Regions from separate parts of the Homo sapiens genome. Here region 1 is linked to region 2. Evidence: promoter capture Hi-C in 16 types of primary human blood cells and fetal thymus (Javierre and others, 2016). All regions are on one chromosome and are shown on one strand. The core of a region is centred on a gene start or on the middle of the fragment in contact, and the rest is flanking DNA. Distances in the headings are between cores, read along the strand shown.

The links. Contacts are between HindIII fragments. The CHiCAGO score rates a contact against its expected background, and 5 or more counts as called.
Region 1: a fragment that was not itself captured here is called in contact with the fragment with the promoter of JADE2 in region 2 in 1 of 17 cell types (naive CD8 T cells); the score reaches 6.3 in naive CD8 T cells.

The regions. Positions count from the first base shown.
Region 1 is chr5:134,263,576-134,267,747 of GRCh38, reverse strand. It overlaps the pseudogene RPS13P6. Among named protein-coding and RNA genes, the nearest start is that of PPP2CA-DT, 39 kb to the right of the region's middle. The HindIII fragment of the contact is 1,089 bases long and covers 1,624-2,712 here.
Region 2 is chr5:134,523,157-134,527,050 of GRCh38, reverse strand. It overlaps JADE2 (jade family PHD finger 2), which reads right to left and starts at 1,381. Exons shown (of 12, transcript NM_001388185.1): 1 at 1,040-1,381. LOC124901070 (a long non-coding RNA gene) reads left to right here and starts at 1,449. Exons shown (of 3, transcript XR_007058942.1): 1 at 1,449-1,585; 2 at 1,968-2,145; 3 at 3,007-3,894. RefSeq lists silencers at 1-911, 922-1,181, 1,212-1,291, 1,422-1,641, 1,662-1,711 and 1 more. The HindIII fragment of the contact is 6,085 bases long and covers 1-3,833 here.

The sequences.
Region 1 (4,172 bases), core at 919-3,418, 260 kb after region 2:
CAGAATCAGGCATAGTTTAGCATCCTTATCCTTTCTGTTTTGTTTGAGATGCTTTCAAATAGCAACTGCTTTCTTGATTGAATGGTACAGATCATCAGGGAGATCAAGAGCAAGTCCCTTGGACTTAAGAATTCTTAAGATTTCATTGCCTGTCACAAAGCGTACTTGTGCAACACATGTGCATCTCTCAGGATCACACTGACTTGTGAGGGAGTCAGGCCCTTTTTGGCCAGTTTGTAAATCTGCTCCTTCATGTCATCAGGTATCAACTTCAGCTGAGTGGGGATCCTGCAGCGATAGGGCAGAGCCCCTCCAAGGAGCATGCATGTGACCCATGATGGCTGCGGTCAGGCAGCGAAAGGCAAAGTATTTAAATGCATAAATTTACTTCTAAGCACAGCTTTAGCTGTATCACATGTTTTTGTATGTAGTATTATTTAGTGTTATTTAGTAAGCTTTTCTTCCAGTTTCCAATATGACATCTACTTTATTCCATGAGTTATTTAGAAATGTAATTCTCAGTTTCCAAGCCCGTGGGGAATTTTGAAATTAATATTTAGCTTAATTAGAGTGTGGTCAGAGAATCCCTCTGTATTATTTCATTCCTTTGAAATTTATTGATTTGTTTTATGTGCCAACATATAGTAAATTTTTGAACTGAAAAATAATTCTGTAATTATTGGGTGCAATGTTCTATAGGTGTCAGTTCAAGAGTGTTAATTGTGTTGTTTAAATCTTTATACCATATCTGATTCTTTGGCATGTGTCCTGTTTATTTGTTATTGAGGGTTATGTGTTAAAATTCTTCAAGCATCATTGTGGATTTGTCTACTTCTTCATTTAATTCTATCAGTTTTTAATATACATTTAAGGCTATGTTATTAGGTGCATTCAGTTTAGGTTTGTTGCATTTTTCTGGTGAATCGTACCTTTTTTTCATTATGAAATATGTCTCATTTCTAGTAATGCTTCTCACATTACAGTCTACTTTATGTGTTATTCATATAGCTACCTGTTTTGTTTAGAGTTTGAATAGTAACTATTTTTGTTTTCTTTTACTTTGAATATTCCTACATATTTATATTTCATATAAATGGTTATTTTATAAGCAATATATGGTTAGGTTTTAAATTTTCTATCCAGTATGACCATCTATTTCTTTTTTTGGAGCATTTTATTTGGAACCTTTTTTATTTAATATAGTTACTTATATGTTTGGTTTTATATCTACCACCTCGCTATTTACTTTCTATTTGTTCCATGTATTCTGTTTTCCTTTCTTTCTCTGTTACTGCTTTTTTAAAAAAATTATTGAGTATTTTTATTATTCAATATTTCCCTTTATCAGTGTGTTATGAGATATATATATTTGACAATTATAAGCAGATTTTTGTCACATTCATCTGTGACTTACCAGAGTTTAATAAAATTAGTATTTTATTCCTTCTAGACAATGAAAATACCTTAGAATACTTCAACTCTATTTGCTTCTCTCCCTACTTATGTGCTAATGATGTCATTTTTAAATTTTACATATATTAATCCTACAATACATTATTATTGTTTTAGACAGTTAACATTTACTCTTTTGTTACTATTTATTCCTTCCTGCATTTCCAAGCTTACACTGGGGTCATTTTTCTCTGTCTAAAAAATACTCTTTAGTATTTCTTTTAATGCAGACTATATGATGACAAATCCAGTCATTTGTATTTTCCCGTACCTGTCTTTATTTTACCTTCATTTTAAAGAATTTTTAAATTGATCTTAAGTGTTCAGTTGAATGAGTCGTGACAATTGTATTCACCCACGTAACACCACATAAATAAGGTATAGAACACTTCCATTTCCCCAGTGCTGGTTGCCAGTCAATTTTCTGTTTACCCACAATGCAACCATTTTCTGATTTCTGACATCATAGATTAGTTTTTCTTGTTCTTGGACTTCATGTACCTTGAATCCTATAAATGAAATATAATACATATAGTTTTGTGTAATGTTTTCAAAATCCATCCATGGTTTGCAGTTAACACTTACTTGTTAATTTCCTCTTTAAAATTTTTTTTGTTAAATTTTTTTGAGACAGGGTCTTGCTGCATCACCCAGACTGGAGTGCAGTGGCATGAACACAGCTTGCTGCAGCCTCCACCTCCTGGGCTCAAGCAATCCTCCCACCTCAGCCTGTCAAGTAGCTGGGACCATAAGTGCATCCCATCATGCCTGACCAACTTTTTTATTTTTTGTAGAGATGGGGTCTCGCCATGTTACCCATGCTGTTCTCAAACTCCTGGGCTCAAGTGATCATCCTGCCTCAGTTTACAAAAGTGCTGAGATTACTGCCATTCTTATAGCTATGTCATGTTCTAGTGCATGACTATAATACAATTTCTTTATCCAATCTCTAGTTGATGCACATTTGAGTTGTTTCAATTATTATGATTAAGGCTGCCATGAACTTCCTTGCACAAGTATTTTTGTGGATCTATGCCTTCGTTATCCTTGGAAAAATACTTAGAAGTAGAATTGTGTGGTCATAGGGAAAATGTATGTTTAAATTTAGGGGAAATTACCAAACAGTTCTCTAAGATGAGATAATTGTTTACACTCTCACCAGCAAAGACTGAGAGTTCCAGTTGCTCCATAGCTTTATAAACATCTGATATTATCACTTTATCCAATCTAGTGGGTGTATAATGGTACCCCATTGAAGCTTTTTTTAAATCGAAGTTTTAATTTGCATTTTCCTAATGAATAATGATGTTGAGCACCCTTTCACATGCTTATTGGCCATTCTTATGTCTTTTTTGTTTGTTCAAATACTTTGTACATTTTAAATTGGATTTTTGTTGTTGTTGTTAATTGTTAGTGGTTCCTGATACATTCAGGACACAAGTTTTTGGTCACACATACGCACTGCAAATATTATCTCACAATTCGTGGTATGTCTGTCTATTCATTTTCTTAACAATATTTTTTCTTTTAAAGGCATAAACTTATATAAAATAAAATGCAAGGGCCCTAACTATTTAACTTTATGAATTGTGGCAATTAAATATACCCATGTAACCACCACCCAAAGCAAGATATAAAATAATTACATCTCCCCTTATCCTCCTTTCAGCCAATGCCTCCCATCAAAGGAAACCAGTATCTGACATCTATCACTAAAAGTTAGGGTTTTTTTGTTGTTGTTTGTTTGTTTTGTTTTGTTTGTTTTTTGAGACAGAGTTTCGCTCTTGTTGCCCAGGCTAGAGTGCAATGGCACAATCTTGGCTCACTGCAACCTCTGCCTCCTGGGTTCAAGCAATTCTCTTGCCTCAGCCTCCCCAGTAGCTGGGATTGTAGGCATGTGCCACCACACCTGGCTAATTTTGTATTTTTAGTAGAGATGGGGTTTCTTCATGTTGGTCAGGCTGGTCTCAAACTTCTGACCTCAGGTGATCTGCTCACCTCGGCTTCCCAAAGTGCTGGGATTACAGGTGTGAGCCACCACACCTGGCCCCATTTACATATTTACTATATGTTTCCAGTTAGATAAAGTTCAAATACAAATAAAACTAACCTCTGGACTCTTTCAAACTCCTGACCTCGGGTAATCTGCCGGCCTCGGCCTTCCAAAGTGCTGGGATTACAGGCATGAGCCACTGTGCCCGGCCAAAGATATTCTTCTAAAAGTCTTAAAGTTTTCCATTTACATTTAAGTCCATAATACATATAAAATTATTTGTTGTGCTTGGTATGAGGCAAGAATTCAGTTCCTCTTTTTCTGTGTGGCTTACCAATTGTCCCAGTCTCATTTATTTAAGAGTCTATCCTTTCCCCACTTATTGTCAATACCATTTATTGACAATACCATCATATATTAAGTTTCTGTACATGTGTGGGTTTTTTATGCTCTTTATTCAGTTCTACTGGTCTTTTACCCTTACACCAATTCAATGGTGTCTTAATTACATCTTTAACGTGAATCTTGATGTCTGGTTAGACACATGCTTCTACTTTGTAATTACAACTTTAACATGAATCCTGACGTCTGGTTAGACACATGCTTCTACTTTGTTCTTCCTTTTTTTTTTTTTTTTTTGAGACAGAGTGTTGTTCTGTCACCCAGGCTGGAGTGCAGTGGCACAATCGCAGCTCACTGCAACATCCACCTCACAGGTTCAAACAAT
Region 2 (3,894 bases), core at 132-2,631:
CGGCATCTTCCTGGTACCACCCATGGTGCAGGGCCCTAGGCAGAGGGCTGGGGACTGCGGATCCGTCCCTGAAGCGGGACGCGAACCGGCAGAGTTGGGAGAAGGTAAACAAGGGCCACGCCCCCTGCCGTCGCCCCGCGGGCGCGCACCCGCCGCTCCGGCCGCCGCCGGTACATTTCCACTCTCCCAGCGCCTCTCCCCAGCTGGACTACCGCGCGGCCCCGGAGGTGGAGGCTGCCCCCGACCCCAGTCCTCACCCCTGGCGCCGAGGCTCCGCACCCTCCACACTCACCTGGAAAGGGTGTCCCCCGCCCCTCCAAAAAAACTGTCTAATTTGTGCAGAGCCTCCAACCCCAGGAGCCGAGCATGCTGCCCCCGCGTGCAGCGCCCGCGTGCACCGGGCCGGGAGAGGGGGCGACAGGGCGGAGGCGGTGGCCCCCGGAAGGTGTCTGGGACCGGACCGGCTGCACGTGAGCCCAGCGCGAGGTCATGTGCACCGGCTCAGCCCGGTTCGGCGCCCGGACGTGCTGCGTATCAACAAAATGAAACTCGGGGAGACAGGAGGGCAGATAGCTCCAGGTTCTCGGAGCCCCCGCCCGGGCCGCTCGACCTCCCCACCGTACCCATCTCCCGCCGCAGCCCCTACGCCCGGCCGGAGCCCGCGGGGAAGTTGCAGCCCTGGCGCGCCCCCGCCCGCCCGCGCCCCCTCGCCGGCCCGGGGGCGCTTTGCCGCAGTCATTAATAAAGAAGGTCGCCAAGCTCACCCTTCCAAAAGTTGTTGTTGCATGCGCCCCTCTCAGCCTCCCCGCACTGTACTCTTTAAAACACGACTGACCAACATGCGCAATCTCTCTCCCCTGTGCTGTGCATCCCCCCCCTCTCCGCGCTGGCTTCCTAGAACAGGCAGCCAGCAGGAGAGAGAGGGAGCGAGCGAGCAAGAGAGAGCGAGGGAGCGAAGAGCGCTGGCAGATCTGTTGCAAAAACGCCAAATAACGTCGTGGAGATGCGCAGGGCCCATCCGCCGGGGGCTGGATCTTACCTTGCTCCGCGGTGCCCCCCTGACGGGCGCTGCCCTCGGCTACGCGCCGCTGCAGGGACCGGCGCGGGAAGGATGCTCCCGAAGCCGGGAGCTCCTGGGGCCGGCGCGGGAGGGCGGGGGGCGCGCATCCATCCGGGGTCGCGGCGAGGGAGGCGGCCGGGCCCGCGGCGTCCCAGGCCCCACGCCCCCCGCCGGGGACGGTCGGCCCGCAGGACCTAAGCCGGTGCCGCTAGGAGTGGGCGCAAAGTAACTCCATGGACGCTACTCACCCCCCCCAAAAAATAGCCTCCAACTGCGATGGCCGCGGTCGGCACCATTCACCAACCCCCTGTGTATGTTTCTGTTTCTTTTTAAACCAAGACTTCCTTGTGATCTCTTTAGAAAAAAAAAATGTGTTGGGGTGGGGGTGGGGTGGGGGCGGGCAGGAGGAGCGAGGGAGGGGGAGTAGCCACTTTTTTCTTATTCACTCGGATCTCCGCTCCCGACACCCCCGTCGCCGCCCCCCCAACCCCCCGCCCAGTTGTTTGGCTCCGGCGGGGAGTCCAGGTAGCGTTGCGGGCCCCGTGGGGGAAGGGTGCCCTCCCTCGCAGCCCCACCACCACGCCTGCTGGCACCCTGGGCCCGGACTCCCCATGGACTCTGGGGCGCCCCTAGCCCGCCCTGTCCCCAGGGCCGGGCCCGAGCGGCGGCTGCGCCCGTGCAAGTCCCATCAGGTCTGCTCACACTTCACACACTCACACACATACCCCGCCCCTCCACTCTTTCACTCACACTTTCTGCTCACACCCCGCCCCCTACGCGCCCCAGACCCGGGCGGCGCCCCCCGCAACCTTAAAAAAAAAAAAAAGCGAGCTTATACTTAAAAAAATCTTTTGGCGCCATATTAATGACGTACTTAAAATTTGCCATTTCTCCCTGCGTCAAAAAGACGTTTCTTTGCAAATAACAGCCTGGAGGCGACACTCGCGGAGGGAACGAGGTTTGCACTGAGCACCCCGCCCCCCGGGGCTCCAGCGCTGGAAGACCCTCGCCCTAGGCCCTGCTTCTGAATCGCTGGTTTTAAAATGCGAATCGAATAAATTGCGTGGCGTTTTGCAGCACCAGAAGTGAGCAGAAAGTGCTGGCAGGAGGGGAGTGGAGGGGCGAACGCGAGTCTTGGGGAGGGGGCGCGGCCCTCCTCCCCGCACCCACTCCAAATGGAAAACTAACATTCCGGGCGGGGGAACTTGAAATTGTAGGCGACCTCAAGAAAAGAGGGGCGGTCCGTAGAGAGGGTCCCCATTGGGCTCGTCGCCCCCTCCCCCCTCCCGGGTGCCTCCTGGCGCCTAGCGCTGCCCCGCATTTCCGGGGGGTGGAGAAGGCAGTGATGAGCGGGTGGGTGGGTGGTTGCACATCCTGGCCCCAGCAGGATTTTGCCCCGGGGCGACCCCTTCCTCCTTGCTCTTCCTTCCCATTACCCCGAAAGGGTTAAAAACCGAGGGGTAACTTCCAAAGGCTGGCACATGGCGAGGAAGCGGGGCGCCCCTCTCCCCACCCTTCGCCTCCTCGCCCCTCCTCCTCCGGCTCCACTTCCCGACTTGACCTTGTGGTGCACAAACAGTACGCTCGGATCCTCGCAGTTTCTGGAAGAAGAGCCTGCGCTCGCCAGGCGGGCGGGCTGTCGGGCTGCTAGCCGGCGGTGGCGGGGCCTTGGGTCTGTTCCCGGAGCCGCGGGCCACACCCACCCAACCCGCTGCGCCCGCCGAGCTCACCTTCTCTCGAGGAAGGAGAAGGACTGGCCTCCTGGTTGGGGAGGAATCGGGGGTCAAGCTCCAACCTCCTCGGAATGCCTCTAGCTGGGGAGGGGGTGGGTCTGGCCTCGGGAGGAGGTTGTGGGGAGCCTGGCCCAACATCCCCAAAGCATCGTGGCCAACTTTTTCTTCCCCCTCATGGTCGGCTGCCCCTCAGATTATCCAATAATTTTTCAGCTCACCTTTGGCTTTGAAGGCACGTGGGTGAGTTGTGAATGGACACCGGAGTCGCCTTCCCTCTCCAAGACTGAAGATTGTTTATTCTTCCTTTCCCCTCCACCCCCTTCCATGGGAAGATAAATATTCAATTTACATAAGATGACATTTATGTGACAATTAAGAAGATTCCCCGATGGAATGTTGTGAACACATTTGCTTATAGGAGAAATAAATCTAATAATAAACAAACTCATAATAACAGCACAAATCCTCCGACAGGGCGGATTGTCTACCCAACAAAGAGGGAGATGATGAATGCTGAAATAAGCAGTTTTTGCAACAAGAAAGAAATATGAGCTCAAAGGGAGTCACTGCAACATTTCTTCTTCCTTGGCCTTCATTCACAAAGTCTGAGGAGAATTGTCTGGCAAGAGGATGGTCTGGGTATTACCTTCCAGTTAGACCTGGCTGTGGCTCTCAGTGGTCAATTGGTGGTATTTTTCTCTAGCCAAGCTCAGAGTCTGGAAACAGGTGCTGCAGACTTGGAGTGTGTAACAAAATAGTTAAATACTTAGGTTCTAATCCTGGCTTTGCATTTCAGAAGCTGTGTGATGTGGGCAAGTGAATTCATCTCCCTGGATCGCTTTTTCCTTTTGGGTAGAATGGGGTGGTTGGAGGGTTCTTGAGGCCATGTGTGCACATACACATATATGTATGTACGTACATATACAGGTGGTATGTGTAAAGCAGCAACTGGCACAGGGTGCATAGTGCTCATTAGCACCTTGCCTGGTACCTAAGTGGGTTTTTTTTATTTTGGAAGGGTGAAATTGTTCTCTGAAGCTTGATGGTCAAGGTCCAGATGTCCATTCCGGGGTGGGAGTGAGGGTACCAGTTTACAGTGGC